Regions from separate parts of the Homo sapiens genome. Here all the other regions are linked to region 5. Evidence: promoter capture Hi-C in 16 types of primary human blood cells and fetal thymus (Javierre and others, 2016). All regions are on one chromosome and are shown on one strand. The core of a region is centred on a gene start or on the middle of the fragment in contact, and the rest is flanking DNA. Distances in the headings are between cores, read along the strand shown. Region 1 overlaps UBXN4 (UBX domain protein 4). Region 2 has its middle 9.2 kb from the start of MCM6. Region 3 overlaps DARS1 (aspartyl-tRNA synthetase 1). Region 4 overlaps R3HDM1 (R3H domain containing 1). Region 5 holds the start of SPOPL (speckle type BTB/POZ protein like). Region 6 overlaps DARS1 (aspartyl-tRNA synthetase 1). Region 7 overlaps MCM6 (minichromosome maintenance complex component 6).

The links. Contacts are between HindIII fragments. The CHiCAGO score rates a contact against its expected background, and 5 or more counts as called.
Region 1: a fragment that was not itself captured here is called in contact with the fragment with the promoter of SPOPL in region 5 in 1 of 17 cell types (neutrophils); the score reaches 6.5 in neutrophils.
Region 2: a contact is called between a fragment that was not itself captured here and the fragment with the promoter of SPOPL in region 5, in 1 of 17 cell types (neutrophils). The highest score is 7.0, in neutrophils.
Region 3: a fragment that was not itself captured here is called in contact with the fragment with the promoter of SPOPL in region 5 in 1 of 17 cell types (total B cells); the score reaches 6.3 in total B cells.
Region 4: a fragment that was not itself captured here is called in contact with the fragment with the promoter of SPOPL in region 5 in 1 of 17 cell types (non-activated CD4 T cells); the score reaches 5.4 in non-activated CD4 T cells.
Region 6: a contact is called between a fragment that was not itself captured here and the fragment with the promoter of SPOPL in region 5, in 1 of 17 cell types (total B cells). The highest score is 6.8, in total B cells.
Region 7: a fragment that was not itself captured here is called in contact with the fragment with the promoter of SPOPL in region 5 in 1 of 17 cell types (naive B cells); the score reaches 8.0 in naive B cells.

The regions. Positions count from the first base shown.
Region 1 is chr2:135,776,001-135,779,354 of GRCh38, forward strand. It overlaps UBXN4 (UBX domain protein 4), which reads left to right. Exons shown (of 13, transcript NM_014607.4): 10 at 249-351; 11 at 2,948-3,079. Among named protein-coding and RNA genes, the nearest start is that of UBXN4, 36 kb to the left of the region's middle. The HindIII fragment of the contact is 1,308 bases long and covers 1,442-2,749 here.
Region 2 is chr2:135,883,896-135,887,306 of GRCh38, forward strand. No RefSeq gene overlaps it. Among named protein-coding and RNA genes, the nearest start is that of MCM6, 9.2 kb to the left of the region's middle. The HindIII fragment of the contact is 4,028 bases long and covers 1-3,390 here.
Region 3 is chr2:135,957,579-135,961,126 of GRCh38, forward strand. All of the region lies in intron 4 of DARS1 (aspartyl-tRNA synthetase 1), which reads right to left. Among named protein-coding and RNA genes, the nearest start is that of DARS1-AS1, 26 kb to the right of the region's middle. RefSeq lists a silencer at 3,147-3,347 and an enhancer at 3,383-3,548. The HindIII fragment of the contact is 1,818 bases long and covers 392-2,209 here.
Region 4 is chr2:135,566,942-135,570,239 of GRCh38, forward strand. All of the region lies in intron 1 of R3HDM1 (R3H domain containing 1), which reads left to right. Among named protein-coding and RNA genes, the nearest start is that of R3HDM1, 37 kb to the left of the region's middle. The HindIII fragment of the contact is 2,798 bases long and covers 471-3,268 here.
Region 5 is chr2:138,500,205-138,503,295 of GRCh38, forward strand. SPOPL (speckle type BTB/POZ protein like) reads left to right here and starts at 1,566. Exons shown (of 11, transcript NM_001001664.3): 1 at 1,566-1,915. SPOPL-DT (SPOPL divergent transcript) reads right to left here and starts at 1,491. Exons shown (of 2, transcript NR_187149.1): 1 at 1,115-1,491; 2 at 1-676. RefSeq lists silencers at 1,462-2,001, 2,202-2,251. The HindIII fragment of the contact is 5,215 bases long and covers 1-3,091 here.
Region 6 is chr2:135,939,753-135,943,015 of GRCh38, forward strand. All of the region lies in intron 5 of DARS1 (aspartyl-tRNA synthetase 1), which reads right to left. Among named protein-coding and RNA genes, the nearest start is that of DARS1-AS1, 44 kb to the right of the region's middle. The HindIII fragment of the contact is 2,684 bases long and covers 547-3,230 here.
Region 7 is chr2:135,865,297-135,868,442 of GRCh38, forward strand. MCM6 (minichromosome maintenance complex component 6) reads right to left here. Exons shown (of 17, transcript NM_005915.6): 5 at 1,267-1,432; 6 at 836-981. Among named protein-coding and RNA genes, the nearest start is that of MCM6, 9.6 kb to the right of the region's middle. The HindIII fragment of the contact is 490 bases long and covers 1,278-1,767 here.

The DNA of each region.
Region 1 (3,354 bases), core at 846-3,345, 2.7 Mb before region 5:
TCAGGTGATCCGCCCGCCTTGGCCTCCCAAAGTGCTGGGATTACAGGCGTGAGCCACCACACCCAGCCTAAAAGAGTTAATTTTTTATATGAATCTCAGTAAAGCAGTTATTAACAAACAAAAAGATCTGATATGGTAGAAAAAACTATTGTCATTGCACATTTCCACTTCCATTTTCTCTAACTTAATGATATTGTTAGAGAATATATAGAGGTGAAGATTGTGACTTTAATTTTCTTTTTTCATAGCACTGTTGCAAGAATTCAATTCCGTCTTCCTGATGGTTCTTCCTTTACAAATCAGTTCCCTTCTGATGCTCCTCTAGAAGAGGCAAGGCAGTTTGCTGCACAGGTAAATTTATGTCTTGAGTTGTAGTAAAAATAGATGTGTAGGTTACTAAATTATAGGAAGGGAAAATTTCAAAGCAGAAGTTGAATGTGAGTGAATTGTGACCTCTCCAGGAGGGAGGCACAAGACGCCTCTGAGATATTGTGGAAATTCTGTCGGGTGTTAGTGCATATGGGAGTAACATATCTGCTTTGTGTGCAGAAGTAGGAATTTGCTGATATTGTATAATAGGTCCTGGGAACTTTTCTTTTTTAAAATTTTTTGAGACAGGATCTCACTGTGTCGCCTAGGCTGGAGTGCAGTGGTGCGATCACAGCTCCCTGCAGCCTCGACCTCCTGGGCTCAAGCGACCCTCCCACCTCAGCCTCCTAAGTAGCTGGAACTTACAGGCATGTACTGCCATGCCCGGCTAATTTTTGTACTTTTTGTAGAGACAGGGTTTCACCATGTAGCCGGGCTGGTCTTGAACTCCTGGGCTCAAGCATTCCTCCCACCTCAGCCTCGCAGTGCGTTGGGATTACAGGCGTGAGCCACCCAGCCCAGCCACTGGGAACTTTTTTCACTGATTAGTAGACTCATTGAAGGAGTGACAGGCAAGTGATTTCCCGAAGGTCTGATGTGAGGGAATTGTCCCACTCCCCTGAAATGGAAGCAGTTTTTCTCACTCCTCTCTCCATTTCCTACAGATTGCTTAGGGGCTGGTCATTTTCCTACGATTTACCTTTTGGCTAAGGAAAAAGAGGCAGTAAACTTTATTTGACAATAGTATCTTCTTCAGGAATTTACTTCCAAAAGGTGGCCTTACTCAGAATCTGAATGGAGTATATATCTTGAGATATGAGTAGTTTTCAATTTATTTTTATTCCCTGATTGATTCCTTATTCAAAACGGATTCTGAGCATCAGATGTCCTTTGGGTTCTAGGCTCATTATATGTATCAGTATTTTTTTCATATATATAATTTCAAGGTTAAAATTAGGGATTTGGGTTCAGATCTTTCCGCCAGACCTTTTCTCCACATTTGGTCGTCTTCTTGCACTCGTGAACTAGGCTGGACAATGTAAACGTTTATTTTAAAAACTGTTTCCCCCTAAGCTTTATAGTAGAAACAGTCCCAAATAGGTGCTTTCATTCTTCTTTTGTCTTGGAGCCTCCCACAATGTGTCCCCTGTCCTGAGTTTCACTGCTTTTGCCACAGGTAAATGGAGAAGGGACTACATCTTTGATTGCATGTGTCCTATTAAAACTCCACCTCAGGCCAGGCATGGTGGCTCACGCCTGTAATCCCAGCATTTTGGGAGGCCGAGGTGGGTGGATCACAAGGTCAGGAGTTTGAGACCAGGCTGACCAACATGGTGACCCCATCTATTCTAAAAATACAAAAATTAGCCGGGCGTGGTGGTGGGCGCCTGTAATCCCAGCTTCTCGGGAGGCTGAGGCAGGAGAATCGCTTGAACCCAGGAGGCAGAGGTTGCAGTGAGCTGAGATTGCGCCACTGTACTCCAGTCTGTGCAACAGAGCAAGACTCCATCTCAAAAAAAACAACAGGCTGGGCGCAGTGGCTCACGCCTGTAATCCCAGCACTTTGGGAGGCTGAGGTGGGTGGATCACGAGGTCAGGAGATTGAGACCATCCTGGCTAACACGGTGAAACCCCGTCTCTACTAAAAATACAAAAAATTAGCCAGGCGTGGTGGCGGGCGTCTGTAGTCCCAGCTACTCGAGAGGCTGAGGCAGGAGAATGGTGTGAACCCGGGAGGTGGAGCTTGCAGTGAGCCAAGATCGCGCCACTGCACTCCAGCCTGGGCGACAGAGCAAGACTGTCTCAAAAAAAAAAAAAACAAAAAAAAACCCAAAAAACAAAAATTCCACCTCAGTACAGTTATCAAGTTTTGTATTTTGTGTATCTTTAGAACAGTGAGGGGTATGTGTGATCTACAGTAAAAAAAAAAAAATACGAAAAACAAGTTAGTCTCCTTCTTTGGAATCTTCTAGGGAAAGATACACAGATGTCTAAGATTTTACAAGTGATTTTTGTATATAGAGGACTTAAAATTGTGAGGGTGACTTACAGTGCTGTCCATTGTACGTTCCTGGATCTGGTATTGTGTGTATCATGTAGGTTGATTATGGACCATTTATGCCTTGAGACAAGGAGGAGGCTACACTTCCTGAAGGTATATATGAGGGAAATACTGGTCTAGTCCAAATTCTTAATAGGGATTACCTGTAATCCAAATGTGTGTTCATGAGACATTAAGTTTGCCAAAGGATAGTGAAAACCTAATGATGAACTGCAACAGTACTTAAAGGAGATACACAATTGTCCATTTTTACTCAATTTATTTGTGTGTTTTTAGGAACTATATTTTGCTATTTTGTGGTCATCTTTGAGTTACAGAAGCTTTTAAAAACTATTTGGATTTGATAGCTTTTCAGCTGCTTAGGGGCTGGAAGCACAATTTTATACCTTTTTTTGAGTTTACATGTAATGAACTTTTAAAATTAAGGCAATGTTAATTAAAGCATCATTTTGGATTCATCTGAGTAATATCTTACTTTTAAAGGCACTCTTTAAGTTTTTAAAACTTATTTTACAGACTGTTGGCAACACTTACGGTAATTTTTCGTTAGCAACCATGTTTCCCAGGAGGGAATTTACCAAAGAAGATTATAAAAAGAAGTTACTGGATTTGGAACTTGCCCCAAGCGCTTCGGTGGTACTGTTGCCAGTATGTATATACAGATGCATTTTTTTCTCTTCTTATTGTTTTCTGTTTATCATACTCTTCATTTCTTATAATTAGGGGAAAGGAAGTGCACAGATATACTGAAGGTAATTAAAATTCAAGTGATCCAATAATTAGATGAATTTATAATTCCATTATCCTGTGCTTTATTTGTATTGCTGATATTACTTGTGAGACATGAAACAGTTTAATTTTTAACTTTTTTCTTCACATATTTTTGTGTACAAAAAAAATGACCAATAGGAGAAGACAGTAAG
Region 2 (3,411 bases), core at 127-2,626, 2.6 Mb before region 5:
AGGGCATGGTATGTGGGGGTTTTGTTGTTAGGTTCCTAATTAACAAGAATGAAGGGCTGACGTGTTCTATGATATGATTCGTCTCAGTGTGTGCATTCTGTCCTTCAGTCTTCTGCTGTCCTTCAGTCCATCCTACTGTCTGGGTATCCTGCAGTGGGCAGCCATGTTTGTGGATAGGGCTCCTGGAAACTTACAACCTAATGGTGGAGGCAGGATATGAACACAACTACAATTTGCAGAGTGATATGCAACTGTACCAAAAAACATAAAGTGTAAAGTGAAATCAAAGTACAAGGTTACAGTAGAAATAAAGGATCCTAATTAGGATATTTACTGTAAAAAGAGATAATCTACTGGGAGGCCAAAAAAATCACTGATTTCTTATTTTATAGCAAATTATAATTTAAAATTGCAAAAAATATACATTCATTGAAGGAAAGCAGAAATACAGAAAAGCAAAAAGAATAAAAACCACCCCAAATTGTACCACACAGAAATATTATTTAATATTTTGATGAATTTCATCCTTTCATATGAATTTCATTATTGTATAAGCTCCTTTTAAAATAAATTCAGGCTAGGTGCAGTGGCTCACGTCTGTAATTTCAGCACTTTGGGAGGCCAAGGCGGGTGGATCACTTGAGGTTAGGAGTTCGAAAGCAGCATGGCCAACATGGTGAAACCCTGTCTCTACTAAAAATACAAAAATTAGCTAGGTGTGGTGGTGCACCTGTAATCCCAGCTACTTGGGAGGCTGAGGCAGGAGAATCCCTTGAACCTGAGAGGCAGAGGTTGCAGTGAGCTGAGAAGTCACCACTGCACTCCAGCCTGGGTGACAGAGTGAGACCCCATCTCAAAAAATAAATAAATAAATAATAAAAGAAATTCAACAGTATATCATAAACATCTTTTCAGTTGATAAATATATTTCTGTATTATTTTAATGGCTACGTCTATTACTATAAAGACCATCCATGTAGTATATTTTTACAAATTTAAATCTTTAGATAATTTTGATGAGAAATTAATGAGTCAAAGGGGAGTCACATTTTTTTTTTTTTTTTTTGAGACGGAATCTCGCTCTGTCGCCCAGGCTGGAGTGCAGTGGCATGATCTGGGCTCACTGCAAGCTCCGCCTCCTGGGTTCATGCCATTCTCCTGCCTCAGCCTCCGGAGTAGCTGGGACTACAGGCACCCACCACCACGCCTGGCTAATTTTATTTTTTTATTTTTAGTAGAGACAGGGTTTCACTGTGTTAGCCAGGATGGTCTCGATCTCCTGACCTCGTGATCCGCCTGCCTCAGCCTCCCAAAGTGCTGGGATTGCAGGTGTGAGCCACCGCGCCCAGCCTGGGAATCACATTTTAATACTCTTAACACATCTGCCAAAGTATCCTCCAGAAAACTTGCACATCCTCACCGGCATATGATAGTGCTGTTACAATTATTTTTCTCCTTGTCAAATTAAAAGGGGAAAAATGAGACCATGTTTACTTCTTACATATATTTTAATAATTTCCTAGGGCACCTCACCAGCTTTCAATCAGTCCAGTTCAGTGGATTGCACTCAACCAGGATTTCTTGGATTGTTCCATTGTATCTTGTACAAGGGTGTTCTCTCCTCTTGCATTTCACACAAAGGGTGCTCACTCTGAGAGTACATCTTCCTCATTGTCTTAGTCCTCAGAAATGGATATCGGTGTGCAGCAGGTTTACTGGGGAGTGCTGTGGGGATCAATAGCTAGTGGGGACAGGGAGAGCATGAATGGGCAGAGGTAGAAGTCAAACTGCTGTGCAGTTGCAACAAAGACCTCGGTGGAGCCCACAGGGAGCTCCGCAGCTCAGATAGCCCTTCAGAGTGGCTCCAAATCAGGCAAGGGGGCTGGGCCTTTTACCCAGCATCAACCAGTCATGGGATGCAGGCTGCCCTTGGGGAAGTAGTGTAAATGTGGGTGAACCAGCTTATTTTAGTCAAGGGTAATTCCTAGGGAGAGAGGAGAGAGGTTAGCTATGAGCTGTCAATAGTCAACGAGGTACTAAAGTAGGTTTCTGGGCTGCACATCATGGCATCCACTAGAGCCCACCCTAGCACCTGCTCTGTATAGTAACAAGACTGCATTTCAGAACAGCACCTACAAGATCCTGGTTGGCCTCTTTTCCTAAGGAAACTTACAAGAGGAAGGCTAATAGGACGAAATTCAGCTGTTGCAGCTGGAGCTGAACTTGAGCCTAAAATTGATACTGATCATGATTCCCTCCTCTACAACCCATTCCTAGATTCCCCTCTTAGCTAGCACCTTTTCTAGTCTAGGTGGTTTACCTGGCGGAGTGACACAGACCTTCATTCCTGAAGGACCTAAGTCTTTGGTCACCATACTTTTTTAGGCCACGGCTGGTATACTTGTCCTTTACTGTCAAAACTGGTTAGTGGTTGTATGAGAAGTGCTGGATTACCTGGGTGTCAAACCTTTATCCTGCTCCCACTGTATAACAGATACCTGACCTCTTCTTGCTGCTCAGGTCAGTTAAACCCACTAATATTATGACTGTTTGGCTTGCCGGCAGGCATGTGGAGCCTGAAATGGCAGAGCAGCAGTGACAGTTTCAAGTTTCAAGGAGCTCTTCTTGTGTCTCCTAGTGCAAGTGTTAGACCTGTGGGAACTAGGATATATAGAACCACAGAGTCTGCAGCTGTGGGGAAGGAAGCACCAATTTCCCAAGTGGATCACCGGAAGAGATGGTGTGCAGGGCCACTCCTTCCACCTCTTGTATCCTGGACCCTTGTATTCTACCTCATGGGGACTATGCCTCTTTTTTTTTTTGAGATGGAGTTTCACTCTCGTCACCCAGGCTGGAGTGCAATGTGTGATCTTGGCTCACTGCAACCTGCACCTCCCGTGTTCAAGCGATTCTCCTGTCTCAGCCTCCCGAGAAGCTGGGATTACAGGTGTGCACTACCACACCCAGCTGATTTTTTTTTTTTTTTGAGATGGAGTCTCCCTCTGTCGCCAGGCTGGAGTGCAGTGGTGCAATCTCGGCTCACTGCAACCTCCGTCTCCTGGGTTCAAGTGATTCGCCTGCCTCAATCTCCACGCCCACCACCTAATTTTTTTTTTTTTTTTTTGTATTTTAGTAGAGACGGGGTTTCAACATGTTGGCCAGGCTGGTCTCAAACTCCTGACCTCAGGTGATCCGCCCGCCTTGGCCTCCCGAAGTGCTGGGATTACAGGCGTGAGCCACTGTGCTCAGCTGGACACATCTTAAAACAGTTGCTGAATTAAGGCAGAGACCATATTTGGAGGTGGTGCCCCTGCCTTGCACAATAACATCTCCAAGCCAGCACCTTGGTTGAGCCTCCAAAAGGCCCTTCTATCACCCTATAAGTCATGAAGCTTCTGGGCAGTTCAGTGA
Region 3 (3,548 bases), core at 51-2,550, 2.5 Mb before region 5:
CTCAAACTTCTGGGTTCAAGTGAACGGCCCATTTTGGCCTCCCAAATTGCTGGGATTACAGGCATGAGCCACCATGCCCAGCTGATCCAAAATAAGCGTGGTGAGAAGTATGCACTACTCAACAAGGCACAGACCAGCAGTTCTAAAACTACTCTATAGGTTCTCTTTAGTGGAATAAAAAATGTCAGCAAACCCCATTAATCACTTAAATAAGTTCTGTCATGTTACTTAAAGACCTACAAATACCAAACTACTGTAAATGCTTATGCTTATAGCCCTTAACTTTAAAATAGAAATAAATTTTTAAATAAAAACAAAATTCAAATTAATAAGTAATATTAATTTTTAATTTCACTAAAACTAAATTGCTGACATTTGGTTTACTCTATAAAGCTTGTAGCCTTAGAGCCAGTTCCATAATTAATTTGTTTCTGTATTCTGACTTCAATACTAGTAATGGGAAGAATACCTGTTCAGTTACCTAAAACATTAACTTTGAGGTAGAGTCAGGATATTTCAGCTTCACAATTAACCAAAATTCTGCAAAGAGTAATCTAAGAATGACAATTTAAATAAAGTATCAGTCAATCATTTTATAAAACTGTCTTACTTATGTGAAAGTTAATGTGGCATTGTTAGTTAAAATTTGTATCAAATGAATTATCAAGTATCTGAACTTAACTGGAACTAGAAATAGAAACATTTTTCCTTGCATCCAACTGTTATACTACTAGTGATCTGCTGCCTAAACAAGTGACCTCAAAGATAAATGTATGAAAGCTACCTTAATTTTTGCTTTCACAATTTTAGCGCATACCCATTTTATGCGCTAAAACACAGTTAACAATTTTTAGGAAAAGGATTTTAAAAGACAAAGAAAAACCCCATATATCTTTTCCCTAAAAAAGTTCTAAAAAGTTCTTGCCGAAGTCTAAAAGTAGACTTCTCCTACCAAGAAGGATCAGGATTTCTGAACTATCTTAGAAGTATAGGTTACATCACACAGAAAGGACAAACTGACTGACCCATCTGGAACATAAAATCATGTTCCTAAGAAAATTATCTTAACCAACTACAAAACCTAAAAACTCATCATTTTTTGCCAACGAGTCTTAGCCATAAGAATTTTCCTTTTTCGCAAGATAGCAAAAGCCATTAACCCACCTACTGGTAATTATTCAGGCTCGATTCCTTAACATGCTAGTGCCAAAAGTTTAATAATAGTTATCTATGTACCACATGTTGAACCTATTGTATAAAATTGGCTCCATTCACTTACATATAACCAGTGACAAGGTTTATAATTTGGAACAGCTCAACCTTTTCCTACACATTGCTACTTTATATAAAGTCCATTTTTTAAAGGGACTAAAAATAGCTGCATGTCCTTTGCTTAAAAAAAAAAAAATCAAGTCACAATTTAGTTAAGCCTGAACTGCATCTAGATCCTTATGGAGTTCCACTTCAGGAATTAAAAAATCTAGGCTAAATTACCTATATTCTTCCCTTGTCTAAAAGAAAGATCACCCATGGCCGGCTGCGGTGGCTCATGCCTGTAATCCCAGCACTTTGAACAGCTGAGGCGGGCGGATCACCTGAGGTTGGGAGTTCAAGACCAGCCTGACCAACATGGAGAAACCTCGTCTCTACTAAAAATACAAAAGTAGCTGGGCATGGTGGTGGCATATGCCTGTAATCCCAGCTACTGGGGAGGCTGAGGCAGGAGAATTGCTTGAACCGGGTAGGAGGTTGCGATGAGCGGAGACCACGCCATTGCACTCCAGCCTGGGCAACAAGAGTGAAACTCCGTCTCAAAAAAAAAAAAAAAAAAAAAAAAAAAAAAAAAAAAAAAAAGATCGCCCGTATATCATCCCATTTGGATGAAAGCCTTTAATAAAATAATGATAAAAAGATGTTCTTTAATTTTATGAGGGCATTAGTGAACTAAGTTCTGTTTGGGAGACCATTTGAAAGTAGCTCTTTTAGCTATTAAGCTATGGTTGACATCTGATATAGTCAATCGCTGTTATTTAGTCAAGTCCCAGGAGTTTCTGAGAAGATCCAAAATAATAGGAATAACTTATTTGCGGAGTACTTTAACGTGTCTGCTTCTAAACACATCACATGGATTAACCGTCCACTTGTCAGTAGAATGCCTCTCACTGAATATTATGGGTAACTGGGATTTTCAAAAGGCTTTTCCACTGGAAGCTTTAGGAATGTAACGCCGAGGTTATAATGCAGTTTAATGGAAAAATATATTCTCTATGTAACTGTCGGCTTCATGTATTAGTTTTCAAAACCAAATTATTATACAAAAGTTGTTTGTTGATTTGAGGTTGACTTTTTTCCAGTATTTTTCAGTATATTTAATAGAATTTAGCATCTATGTCTGCGGTTTCCAGGACCATCTTTTTTTCTTTTATAGAAGGTTCTCTGTGCAGATAAAATTTCTAGGGACCAAGCTCATTTATGTTTGACTTCATAGGATACACACTAACCTTAAAAGGTTGGAAGACAAATGCACCCCACAAGCACACACTCTAACCAGGAGACGAAACAAGCAAACCTAATTACCAGAAGACACACGTAGAAGAAAAGTGGTCATCTCTGGGCAGCACTGGGAGATAGGGAGAGGTGGGGCTACTGTATTAGTAGTATTAAAATACTACTGATCTCATCAATGAATCGATACAATTCATGGCACTTAAGTTCTTAAATCCGAGTGCAGGTATTACTATGACGTAATTTGATAAATATCTAAACCAAAACCAGCTGCTGAGCATCCTTTATATGTATAACATTGTGCTAGAGGGTCAGGGAGGGCTGAAAGCTAAATTACGATATTGAATTAGATAATTTTTAAGTTTCTTTCCAATTCTAAAATTCATAATTCCATCTGTATTAACTCATTCTTAGAAAGCATGCATCTAAAAAGCAAACATTTAAAAAAATCAATAGAAAAAATATATCATTTACTCTGATTGAATTCTTTCTTTTAAAAAACACTTACACACTATGAAATTACTTTATTACTTAAAACACAAAGACCATCCATTTTCTCATGTTTTCTGAGATCATTATCATGGAAATAAAATTCTGATGAAATTGAAAAAAAACATGAAACAAAATTAGCCACATCACCACTACCAAGTAAAACAGCTCTCATCACCTTAGAGCCACTGCACACACAACCACACTTCTATCTCTATATCTGCCTCCTGCAAGCTGAACAAAACAATGTGCTGCTTCTACGGGAACTCTGAGCCAGACAGCCCAGACTTTTACAGGAGGAAAAAGCAAGTTTTACCTTTTTTCTCCTAAACCCTTTTGGTGTCAAAGCTAAAAGTTGTAAAACATTTGTTTTACTTCCTTCTGGAGGCAATCATTTGCCAAACTACATTCTTTTATTTTATATACTTTTATTTTTTGGTTAGAAAACTTGTTGCTCAACATGCAAATCTCAAACTGGGGGAGGGAGGGAAGGAGGGAGGAAATGAAGCTCAACAAACACAACAAAATAAAGTTGCTCTGCTATGTTGAGGCTG
Region 4 (3,298 bases), core at 620-3,119, 2.9 Mb before region 5:
GCCTGGGCAACACAGCGGGACTCCGTCTCAGAAAAAAAAAAAAAAAAAAGTAGACCCCAGCGAGATGCTTTCTACCTTGCTGTTATTGGCACTACTGGCTCTACCACACGTCTTTGTGGTCAAGTTCTCAGTGTTTTCAAGTGTGAAAGAATTTGTTTTTAATTTAAAAAGTGTCTGTAATAGTGCTTGGGATACAGATGAGTGTATGAATTTTTTGCAGTAACTGAGCAGTATCCTACCAATCTGCAGCCCGTAGACAGGTAGTCCCTGCTATCTCCTAACAATCCTGCTTCTCTTTATACATTTGGTCCAGTTAGAGCCCAATATAATTAATTGGTACTTATTCCTTGGAATTATACACCCAGGTACTTTGGGTGCTGTTAATTTCTTGAGTCATATATAGACAGTAACTTCATTTTTCCCAAAGATGAATGAGTACATTGTGTATATGCATACACGTACACTCAATAAGCTTTACTTTTCACTCCCAAAGTGTGACCTTTTACCAGTGTGGGGAAGGGGTCTAGGGGCTTACTGCTTGACCAATGTTCTGGTGAGAATGGTAAAGCTGAGTATTTCACCTGTTCGCCTCTAGAGCTTAGTATCCTAGAGTATATCAAGTTGCATCTATTTTATCTTCCCTTTAAAAAAGTAAAGTAAAATTTTAAAATCTTTAATTAAATATTTAAACTATGGGTTTTCTTTATTGAAAGGGTAAACCATGCCCAAGTCATTTACTGTTCTCATTTCAGGATTTTCCTGTAGGTATTTTTTCTATTTTTACCTTTGTTGTTTTTTTATTTTTGATTTTTTTTAGAGATAACGTCTCACTCTGTTGCCCAGGCTGGAGTGCAGAGGCACAGTCATAGCTCACTGCAGCCTCAAATTCCTGGGCTCAGGTAATTCTCGCACCTCACACTCCCAAGTAGCTGGGACTGCAGGCGTGCATCACCACACCTGGCTTTTTTTTTTTTTTTTTTTTTTTTGCAGGGGAGAGATAGGATCTTACTCTTTTGACCAGCCTGGTCTCGAACTCCTGGCCTAAAGGGATCCTCCTGCCTTGGCCTCCCAAAGTGCTGGGATTACAGGCCTGAGCCACCATGCCTGGCCACATTTTTGTGTTTTTTTGTTTGAGACAGGGTCTTACTCTGTCACCCAGGCTGAAGTGCAGTGGTTCAATCACGCCTCACTGCAGCCTCAACTTCCCCAGACTCAGGTGATTCTCCCACCTCAGCCTCACAGGTAGCTGGGACTATAGGCACATGCCACCATGTCCACTAATTTTTTGTAGATATGGAATTTCACCATGTTGCCCAGGCTGGTCTCAAACTTCTGGGCTTAAGTGATCCGCCCACCTTGGCCTCCCAAAGTGCTGGGATTATAGGAGTAAGCCACTGCACCTGGCCACAGTTTTTTTGTTTGTTTGAGGCGGAGTTTTGCCCTTGTTGCCCAGGCTGGAGTGCAGTTGTGTAATCTCCGCTCACTGCATCCTCCACCTCGCAGGTTCGAGTGATTCTCCTGCCTCAGCCTCCCGAGTAGCTGGGATTACAGTGTCCGTCACTACACCCGGCTAATTTTTTGTATTTTTAGTAGAGACATGGTTTCACCATGTTGGCCAGGCTGGTCTCGAACTCCTGACCTCAGGTGATCTACCCGCCTTGGCCTCCCAAAGTGCTGGAATTACAGGCGTGAGCCACTTGTGCCCGGCCTGGCCACAGTTTTTTTAACCTTTGAAATAGAGTTAGTATTCATACAAGTTTAACAATACTTTTTTAAAAGAAACAGTTTTTCATTTAAAAAACACTTCTATTCATAGGGCGTATTGGTGACCTCTCGGAAGAAAGGGATAAGGAGTCGTCACTTGGCCGGTAAGGGAAATAGACTCAAGTGGATGAGGTCCAACGATTCAGTCTTGAGATTTCACTGCCCTAAAAGTCAAATAATGTGTAAGAGGACAGCGAAGGGAAGACTTCCTCCTCCCCCACCCCCACCTCAGGAAATCCTGATCTTAATTCTCACTCTGTATACCCAGTCACTCAAACCAGAAACTTGGGCATCATATCTCCTCTGTCTCCTCCAGTCCAGTCACTTACTAAGTCCTGCAGTTTTTACTGTGGCCTATTTAAGTTTCAGTGGTTTAATATTCTGGAATACATAGGCTAGATTTGCCCTACTCTGTAGGAATAAATCAGAGTAGATGGTGATGTTTGTCAGTTAAAACTATTAAGAATGTAGAAGATTTTTTTTAATTTCGCAATTACTGCCAGGCACGGCAGCTCATGCCTGTAATCCCAGCACTTTGGGAGGCCGAGGCGGGTGGATCACAAGGTCAGGAGTTCGAGACCAGCCTGGACAACATAGTGAAACCCCATCTCTACTAAAAATAGAAAAATTAGCCAGGCATGGTGGCGCACGCCTGTAGTACCAGCTACCTGGGAGGCTGAGGCAGGAGAATTGCTTGAACCCGGGAGGCAGAGGTTGCAGTGAGCCAAGATTGAGCCACTGCACTCCAGCCTGGGCAACAAAATGAGACTCCATCTAAAAAAAAAAAAATTCATAATCACAGAGAAATAGGTAGTATATCAAAGTAGTTAAGCACATGGATTATAGAGCCAGACCACTCACTTCAGATACTAGACTCTACCGCTCACTGGTTGTGTGACCTTAAACAAGTTAGTTAACCTATCTGTCTCAGTTTTCCCAGCTCAGAGATTAGGATGTTAGTACAACTTGCCTCATAGGGAATGCTTAGAACATACCTTTCATATAGTAAGCTCTTTTTTTTTTGTTGTTGTTTTTTTTGGAGAGGGAGTCTCGCTCTGTCACTCAGGCTGGAGTTCAGTGGCACAGTCTCGGCTCACTGCAAGCTCCGCCTCCTGGGTTCACGCCATTCTCCTGCCTCAGCCTCCCGAGTAGCTGGGACTACAGGTGCCCACCAACATGCCTGGCTAATTTTTTGTATTTTTAGTAGAGACTGGGTTTCAACATGTTAGCCAGGATGGTCTCGATCTCTTGACCTCGTGATCTGTCCGCCTCGGCCTCCCAAAGTGCTGGGATTACAGGCGTGAGCCACCATGCCCGGCCAGTAAGCTCTTTTTAAGTGTTAACTCTTGATCCATTTGTTGTTTTCATTCAAGAATTAGAAAAATCGATTTCCTCAGCTGATGATTTTGAATTAACTATTGATTGTAAACATCTCTTTTATTTACTAGGATATTTGAGATGAGGAATTTTAAACAACTAAATTATTCTTATTTTCTGCCACTTAAGCTTGTGTTCCACCAACTGCATCTAGAAT
Region 5 (3,091 bases), core at 316-2,815:
GTCCCAGATACTTGGTGGCTGAGGCACAGAATTGCTTGAATCTGGGAGGTGACCCAGGATCGCGCCACTGCACTCCAGCCTGGCGTACAAAGCGAGATCCTGTCTCAAACAAACAAAAAGAAAAAAGAAATAAAAAAGACAGCTAATGTAGTATTAATTTGAAATGAGGGGGATCTGCCTGTCCAGTATTCAAATCCCAGTAACCTCTGGATGAATTACTTGCCATTTCTAGTTCTTGTCGCTTAATTTTAAGATGGAAATTTCTACGTTGAAGTTTTAGAGAGGTTGTTGAGAGAACAGAGACGATACAAGTCCATGCTTAGAATACTCAGTACATAGCAAAATAATAAATATTTTCCCTCTGCCCTCTCTCTTTTCTTGGAAAGCCAGGTAAGCAATGAGAAGTTGGTTTATGGCCAGGTGTGGTGGTTCACGCCTGCAAATCCCAGCACTTTGGGAGACCAAGGTGGGAGGATCCCTTGAGCTCAGGAGTTCGAGATCTGCTTGGGCCACATAGCAAGACCTCGTCTCCACAAAAAATTAAGATTACCTGGGCGTGGCACATTCCTGTAGTCCCAGCTACGGGAGGCTGAGTTGGGAGGATCACTTTAGCCTAGGAGGTCGAGGCTGCAGTGAGCTGTGATGGCACCACTGCACTCCAGCCTGGGTGACAGCCCTGTCAAAAACAAAACAAAACAAAAATTGCTGACGTATGCACAGTTAAAGCAAAAAGAGTTGGGATCCTTGAATGACGTTCATGTCTGTTCTGGCAAAGCCGGGATTGTTGGTCCCCCAAACTTCTTTAAAGAAGTTTACTCCTGGTAGCTCGATTAAGTATCTTTGTCCCATGGCCGTGGGGAATAAAAAGTTCAGTTGTCACCCCCTTTTTAAACTAAATGTCCGAAGAGACAAGGCAATCCCATCCTCTCTTCACACATTTGTGCAGGTGCAGCTTTATTTCCCACCGTGCGGTCCCAGGAGGCCGCCTGGTCTTCTGCGCTCACTTCCTAGGCATCCCTGGCCGCCCCTCGGCAGCCTCTCCTTCTGGCCTGAGACTTCCAGCTGAGCCTCATCCCCTCCACCTGAAAACTGCTCCATGGGGCACTTCATCTACCTGGAAAGTTCTCGATTTCCAACTGGAGCCTGTATACTGCTGGTTGTGTCTCAGCAGTTATTACAGCTCTGGGCTTACAACGGGAGCTTAGCAAAAGTTCCACCCTGGCTTCCTAGACTGCTACAGCTCCAAGAAAAATCCTGTGCGCACAAACGGCCGCCGCCTTTGGCGTCTCCCGCGGATTAGACCAGTTAGGAGGTCTCAGTAGGCTTTTAGGCAGGACAAGTTTTACGCCTGGCCAAATAAGGGTCAGACTAAGCAAGGCGCCTCCGTGCGCCTAGCCAGAGCGGTGCCGGCTGCGGAACCTGCCCCGCCGGGAGCCTAGTGCCATGCAGCAGCGGCGGCGGTGGCGGCTTCCCAAGCGCGGCGGCAAATCCGGGCCCGCCCGGAAGTGCCCGGCGCTGTAGGAGGGAGCAAGGGCCCAGGAGCCGCCGCCGCCGCCGCCGCGCGCACGCGCCCTCGCGGGCTGGAGCCGGGGCTGGAGTCGTAACTCGGAAGCCGGAGCCCAGACGGGCCCGCGGCGGGGGGGTGGGGGCTGCGCGGGGGCGGGAGTGGCGGAGGTGGCCGCCCCTGGCGGCGGGTTTGTTTATCCCGGGGAAGAAGTTTAGGAGCGGGAGATAGGGAAGGAGGGCGGGTCGGGGAGGAGGGATGCGGTTCGGCGGAGGCGGCCGCCACAGGGACTTGCCGCCATCACCCCTGCTGCCACCACCGCAGCCTCGGGCTCCCAGGGCGGACACGGCCACCGCCTCAGCGGGAGAGGAGTCTCCACCAGGACTGACCGCTGCCGCCCAGCACGTCCAGGTAGGCGCCCCTTCCCCTCCCCCCAGTCCCCGCGGCAGCCCCAGGCGCTTGCTCCCCTCCCCCGGCTCTCCGTAGACCGGCGGCCTCCTGCTCGCGCCTCACTGCGCCCTCTGCTCTCTGGGTCCCGGACCCCTGCTCGGGCGGCGAGCTCCGGCCTGCTCTGGGGACTACCTCCCACGCCCCCGGACCGCCCTTCCCTCGCGCGGCGGCACCACTTTCCCCGGGGTTGCCCCCAATCCCTCCTTGATTTCCCAGCCTCCACCTTCCAGGATCCCCTTTAGTTTTACCCCCGGGCCTCGCCCCTTCTTTTCCTCTGGCTTCTCTCCTCCTCTATACCTGTATACCTCCACACCTGCCCCTTTTTACCTGAGTGCTGCCCAAAGGCAGAAACTGCATGCTCTGCCACCGCGCAGCGTCCACTTTCATACCTCCTCATCCCAAATACAGACACTTGAAACTCTCGTCCCTGTTAGCCCATTTTAGGCAGAGTTCTCAGCTTCGCAGACCGCTCACTACCTCCAGTCCGGTGGTCATGCCTTTAACCTCTCTTTAACCTGCTTTCTAATACATTTTTGCTCACTTATACCAGAGTACATCAAGCTAACCGCGCGGTTCGGGGTCCAAGTCTTCAAAGAGCCCACTTGTATTCCTGCTGCTCTCCTTTTTCCTAATTCTTTTTGAGTCAATGTATTTGTATATTGATTCAACATAAAAGAAAAGGGAAGGTAGCATTTTCTCTCTCAAAGCAGTCACACAACCCAGTAGAAATAAGATTCACCATCTGCTTATCCTAACTTTCGCTTGTCTCTTTCCTGACTGAACTCTGTCATTCAGTGATTCTTTCCAGGCTTCTGATGCTTTGTCTATTTTTGAATAATCTTGGGCCTAGTTTGACCCATTGTGGTACTCACTTTCCCACTTGCAATTGAATCCACTGTTTCTTGGACTAGAAACTGACAGAGGTAAAAGGTTCATACCTTGAAAAATTACATCTCTCCTGCCACGATGAGATTGGTGGAATATTTCAAATTACCATTTCATCATTCTTGTGAGAAATGTTGCCTAGTGGTTAAGAACTCTTCTCTAGAGCTCAGACTAGTATATAGTTGCCAGGGTGTAAACCCTTGCTCTGCCATCTACCAGCTTTGGCTTTGGGGAAGTTACTTAATATTTCTT
Region 6 (3,263 bases), core at 639-3,138, 2.6 Mb before region 5:
ACCGCTAGCAAGACTAATAAAGAAGAAAAGAGAGAAGAATCAAATAGATGCAATAAAAAATGATAAAGGGGATATCACCACCGATCCCACAGAAATACAAACTACCATCAGAGAATACTATAAACACCTCTATGCAAATAAACTAGAAAGTCTAGAAGAAATGGATAAATTCCTGGACACATACACCCTCCCAAGACTAAACCAGGAAGAAGCTGAATCCCTCAATAGACCAATAACAGGCTCTGAAATTGAGGCAATAATCAATAGCCTACCAACCAAAAAAAGTCCAGGACCAGACGGATTCACAACTGAATTCTACCAGAGATACAAAGAGGAGCTGGTACCATTCCTTCTGAAACTATTCCAATCAACAGAAAAAGAGGGAATCCTCCCTAACTCATTTTATGAGGTCAGCATCATCCTGATACCAAAGCCTGGCAGAGACATAACAAAAAAAAGAGAATTTTAGACCAATATCCCTGATGAACATCGATGCAAAAATCCTCAATAAAATACTGGCAAAACAAATCCAGCAGCACATCAAAAAGCTTATCCACTACCATTAAGCTGGCTTTATCCCTGGGATGTAAGGCTGGTTTAACATATGCAAATCAATAAACGTAATCCAGCATATAAACAGAACCAAAGACAAAAACCACATGATTATCTCAATAGATGCAGAGAAGGCCTTTGACAAAATTCAACAGCCCTTCATGCTAAAAACTCTTAATAAACTAGGTATAGATGAGACGTATCTCAAAATAATAAGAGCTATCTATGACAAACCCACAGCCAATATCATACTGAATGGTCAAAAACTGGAAGTATTCCCTTTGAAAACTGGCACAAGACAGGTATGTCCTCTCTCACCACTCCTATTCAACACAGTGTTGGAAGTTCTGGCCAGGGCAATCAGGCACGAGAAAGGAATAAAGGGTATTCAATTAGGAAAAGAGCAAGTCAAATTGTCCCTGTTTGCAGATGACATGATTGTATATTTAGAAAACCCCATCGTCTCAGGCCAAAACCTCCTTAAGCTGATACGCAACTTCAGCAAAGTCTCAGGATACAAAATCAATGTACAAAAATCACAAGCCTTCCTATACACCAATAACAAACAAACAGAGAGCCAAATCATGAGTGAACTCCCATTCACAATTGCTTCAAAGAGAATAAAATACCTAGGAATCCAACTTACAAGGGATGTGAAGGACCTCTTCAAGGAGAACTACAAACCACTGCTCAACAAAATAAAAGAGGACACAAACAAATGGAAGAACATTGCATGCACATGGATAGGAAGAATCAATATTGTGAAAATGGCCATACTGCCCAAGGTAATTTATAGATTCAATGCCATCCCCATCAAGCTACCAAGGACTTTCTTCACAGAATTGGAAAAAACTACTTTAAAGTTCATATGGAACCAAAAAAGAGCCTGCATTGCGAAGACAATCCTAAGCCAAAAGAACAAAACTGGAGGCACCACGCTACCTGACTTCAAACTATACTACAAGGCTACAGTAACCAAAACAGCATGGTACTGGTACCAAAACAGATATAGATCAATGGAACAGAACAGAGCCCTCAGAAATAACACCGCATATCTACAACTATCTCATATTTGACAAACCTGAGAAAAACAAGCAATGGGGAAAGGATTCCCTATTTAATAAATGGTGCTGGGAAAACTGGCTAGCCATATGTAGAAAGCTGAAACTGGATCCCTTCCTTACACCTTATACAAGAATTAATTCAAGATGGATTAAAGACTTAAACGTTAGACCTAAAACCATAAAAACCCTAGAAGAAAACCTAGGCATTACCATTCAGGACATAGGCATGGGCAAGGACTTCATGTCTAAAACACCAAAAGCAATGGCAACAAAAGCCAAAATTGACAAATGGGATCTAATTAAACTAAAGAGCTTCTGCACAGCAAAAGAAACTACCATCAGAGTGAACAGGCAACCTACAAAATGGGAGAAAATTTTCACAACCTACTCATCTGACAAAGGGCTAATATTCAGAATCTACAATGAACTCCAACAAATTTACAAGAAAAAAACAACCCCATCAAAAAGTGGGCAAAGGATATGAACAGACACTTCTCAAAAGAAGACATTTATGCAGCCAAAAGACACATGAAAAAATGCTCATCATCACTGGCCATCAGAGAAATGCAAATCAAAACCAATGAGATACCATCTCACACCAGTTAGAATGGCGATCATTAAAAAGTCAGGAAACAACAGGTGCTGGAGAGGATGTGGAGAAATAGGAACACTTTTACACTGTTGGTGGGACTGTAAACGAGTTCAACCATTGTGGAAGTCAGTGTGGTGATTCCTCAGGGATCTAGAACTAGAAATACCATTTGACCCAGCCATCCCATTACTGGGTATATACCCAAAGGATTATAAATCATGCTGCTATAAAGACACATGCACACGTACGTTTATTGCGGCACTATTCGCAATAGCAAAAACTTGATACCAACCCAAATGTCCATCAATGATAGACTGGATTAAGAAAATGTGGCACATATACACCATGGAATACTATGCAGCCATAAAAAAGGATGAGTTCATGTCCTTTGTAGGGACGTGGATGAAGCTGGAAACCATCATTCTCAGCAAACTATCACAAGGGCAGAAAACCAAACACCGCATGTTCTCACTCATAGGTGGGAATTGAACAATGAGATCACTTGGACACAGGAAGGGGAACATCACACATCAGGGCCTGTAGTGGGGTGGGGGGAGGGGGGAGGGACAGCATCAGGAGATATACCTAATGTAAATGACGAGTTAATGGGTGCAGCACACCAACATGGCGCATGTATACATATGTAGCAAACCTGCACGTTGTGCACATGTATCCTAGAACTTAAAGTATAAAAATAAAGGAAAAGTAAAAATGGAAACTGAAAAATAAAATAAAATAAAAGTACATCATCAAAAAACTTATAGCAAGATAGGTCCATTATTATTCACTTATATTGGTGAGTAGTTTTTCAGATGTGTTTTGTATTTTTCCCTATGTGGCTGTGGTAGACTGTTTGCAAAAATGGCTGCAATACTTCCTCTTGCTCCTGCATGTATATTCCCCTGCAATCATGTTGCTTTTCCTCCCATCAAGGGCTAGAATCTATTTCTCTACCCCTTAAATCTAAGTTTTGCTGTGTGACTTTGACGAGTGGAATATTTAGCAGATGTGACACAAGTAGAAGCTTGAAAAGTGTCTGTTCTTAGGGTTTCGCA
Region 7 (3,146 bases), core at 273-2,772, 2.6 Mb before region 5:
AAAAAAACAACTCCCCAAACTAGTAAGCCCTCAGTTAACAAAGACACTTAAGGGTATGTCATTTGTCCAGTGAGTTAAATAGAAAAAAAGCTACCTGAATGCTCAAGAGATAAGCGATAGCAGAATGTTAATCACTGACATAAAGATGCAAATAAAATAAGAGAATATTATGTTCACTCCCTTTTTCCAATACTGAACTATTTTCCAAACTCCCATTTATGACACAGAATCAAGTTAACTGAATGATACTGCCAGGGGTTCATCATTCTCAGAAGTTTACTTCCCAGATTACTAAATCTTTTTATTTGTATTTCCTCCAGAAGAATAACAGAGGAACTATGAAACTTTAAAACAAAAAACAGCGTGGATAATTTGTACCACTGCACTTAAAAGCATTGAGCTTTTATGTAAGACATCAAATAAGACTTTTTTTCAAGATCAGAAAGGCATACGTCAAAAGATTTGGTTTTAAAACTCATCAAATCTTAACCCCATCCCGTGCTCTCAACATTGATGAGACAGCCCAGATGTTTCAGAATCCTATCATTTCGTGGCAGCTCAGGGTAGGTGTTTCTTAAGCTGTCACTCTACTAAGACTCACTGTTGGCCTGCCTGGCCAACAGAGCAAGACCTCATCTCTAAAAAAGTTTTTTTAATTAGCTGGGTGCAGTGATTCACACCTATAATCCCAGCTACTCAGGAGGTTGAGATGGTAGGATCACTTGAGCCCAGAAAGTGGAGGCTACAGTGAGCCATGACTTTGCCATTGCACTCCAGCCTGGGTGACAGAGAGAGACTGTTTCAAAAACAAACAAAAACCCCCAAAACGACTGACCCTTGGGTTGGTTGGCGCAACACAGCAGGCAAGAAAGACCAGCCTATAAGAAAGGTCCCTAACACCAAGGGCCCGGAGTCCTCGAATGCCTTCTGTCTCATATCCATCAACACCACTGACACGGGAATTAGTTTCTGCACGTGCTCCTGAAACAGAATGATAGGTTGTTTCACAACTTAAATATTAAAGGTGCTGAACATCAAAATTGCTCAAATAAATGAAAGCTATAAATCCAAAGACTTCACTTAAGCCTTGAATACTTTCAGAATAGCACCATTTGTGGCAAAACCAATTTGTTTTTATTCTCATCACACTTCGTTCCTCAGCTTCTGATTGGTAGCCAAAAAGAAGACAATGAAGATGTGGGAAGCTAGATACTGTGCAGTTTAGGTAACTGAGAATTTGTTAAATTTGAGCCACAGATTACTGACCTGGTGTGCTAAGCTTGGAGACGTCAGGCACAACAATCAGTGTCCCTGTAAAGTCACACTTGTCACCAGCTTGAGCTGATTCCACAGCTTCAGCCCTTAAAATTACTTCTAAACTGCGGGGGATACTCCCTCGAGGAAGCTCAGCTTGGGTCTCTTGAATACGAACCTGTAATACAGACAAACAACCAACCAAGAATGAGAAGCAATACCTTTCAGATGCCATATAATCTAAATTAAATACCACAAATACGGACGTATTCTAAACTATCTGACCCATTAGCAGACTTTTCACATGTACCAACATTTATCCTAAAAATTATCTACTCTAAAACTCCTTTTAGTCAAATAGTTCAATTTGGCAAGAGATTACATCTATTTAAAAACTCCATGATGATTCAAGCAGCAGAGAAAAAAAAAACTTCACTTTTACTCATTAAAAAATAATTTTTTTCTTTGTTCAAAATGACTCCAAATATCTGTTCCATGCTCCATCTTCTCCTAAGCTTTAAGATAATTTTACAGAAAATTTCAAATACACCTTTTATACCCTCCACTTCAACACAACTGCTAACATTATTTACAGATACATGTTTTTTTACTATGTATTTGAACACAGTTGTGAACATCAAGAAACTTCATACCTAAATATTTTAGCATTCATCTCTAAGAATAAAGACAATCCTGTTACAATATCATTATCACAACCAAGATAATTAAACAATATTTAATTTCATAAAATTACATATCTTCTATTATCTAGTCCATCTTCAAATGTCTTGTCAAGAGTGTCCTTTATACAGTTGTGTTCCCCCCCCCAAACTAAGACCCAATCTAGATTCATACTTTATAAGATAAGACATCTCCTACCCAAAGCTGTTGGTAAAATATGTGCATCTTATAAGCTACCAGGTTAATGTAAGAAAGCCAAATAAGGAGAATGATTATCAGAGCAATATAAATAATATTAAATTCATCTGATAATAATTATTCCATACTTGAGCTGCTTCAGCTTTTCTTTCCATTTTGTATGTCCCATAAAATTAAGTCCTGCTGAAATCTGAGGGTCCCCTTCATTCTTACTACTGCCATCCATCACCTCTTGCCCAGGTAACTGAAATTGCCTATTACCCTCTGTTAAACCCATCACGGACTTATTCAGTTTGCTTTTAAAAAAAAACACACAGGCTGGGTGCAGTGGCTCACGCCTGTATCCCAGCACTTTGGGAGGCAGAGGCAGGCGGATCACGAAGTCAGGAGATCGAGACCATCCTGGTTTAACACGATGAAACCCTGTCTCTACTAAAAATACAAAAAATTAGCCGGGTGTGGTGGTGGGCACCTGTAGTCCCAGCTACTCGGGAGGCTGAGGCAGGAGAATGGCGTGAACCCAGGAGGCGGAGCTTGCAGTGAGCCGAGATCGCGCCACTGCACTCCAGCCTGGGTGACAGAGAGAGACTGTCTCAAAAAAAAACAAAAAACAAAACAAAACAAACACACACCCACACACACAAACTACCTTCCCACTATATTCCCACTGCTTATTAAGATAGGCTCAAACTCCTCAGCCTAAGATTTAGGGATCCAAGTACCTCCAGGTCTCACATCAAATCATCTCTCAGATGATCTCCAATTTGGCTCCTTTACTTCAATCATGATAATCCTCATTGCTTCCAAGCTAGCCTGTCCTATTCATGCTTTCCTTTCTATGCAGCAAATGGAAATCTTACACTAACAAGTTGCTATTTCTTTAAGTTTTCTTAACTCCAGTTCATAATGACAACCACCACCACCTAGTTACCATTTATTCTTTGACAAATACATCTTGTCAGTCTTAAGGAACTTCCAAGTTACTGAAAGTTAAAACAAATGTATATACTAAC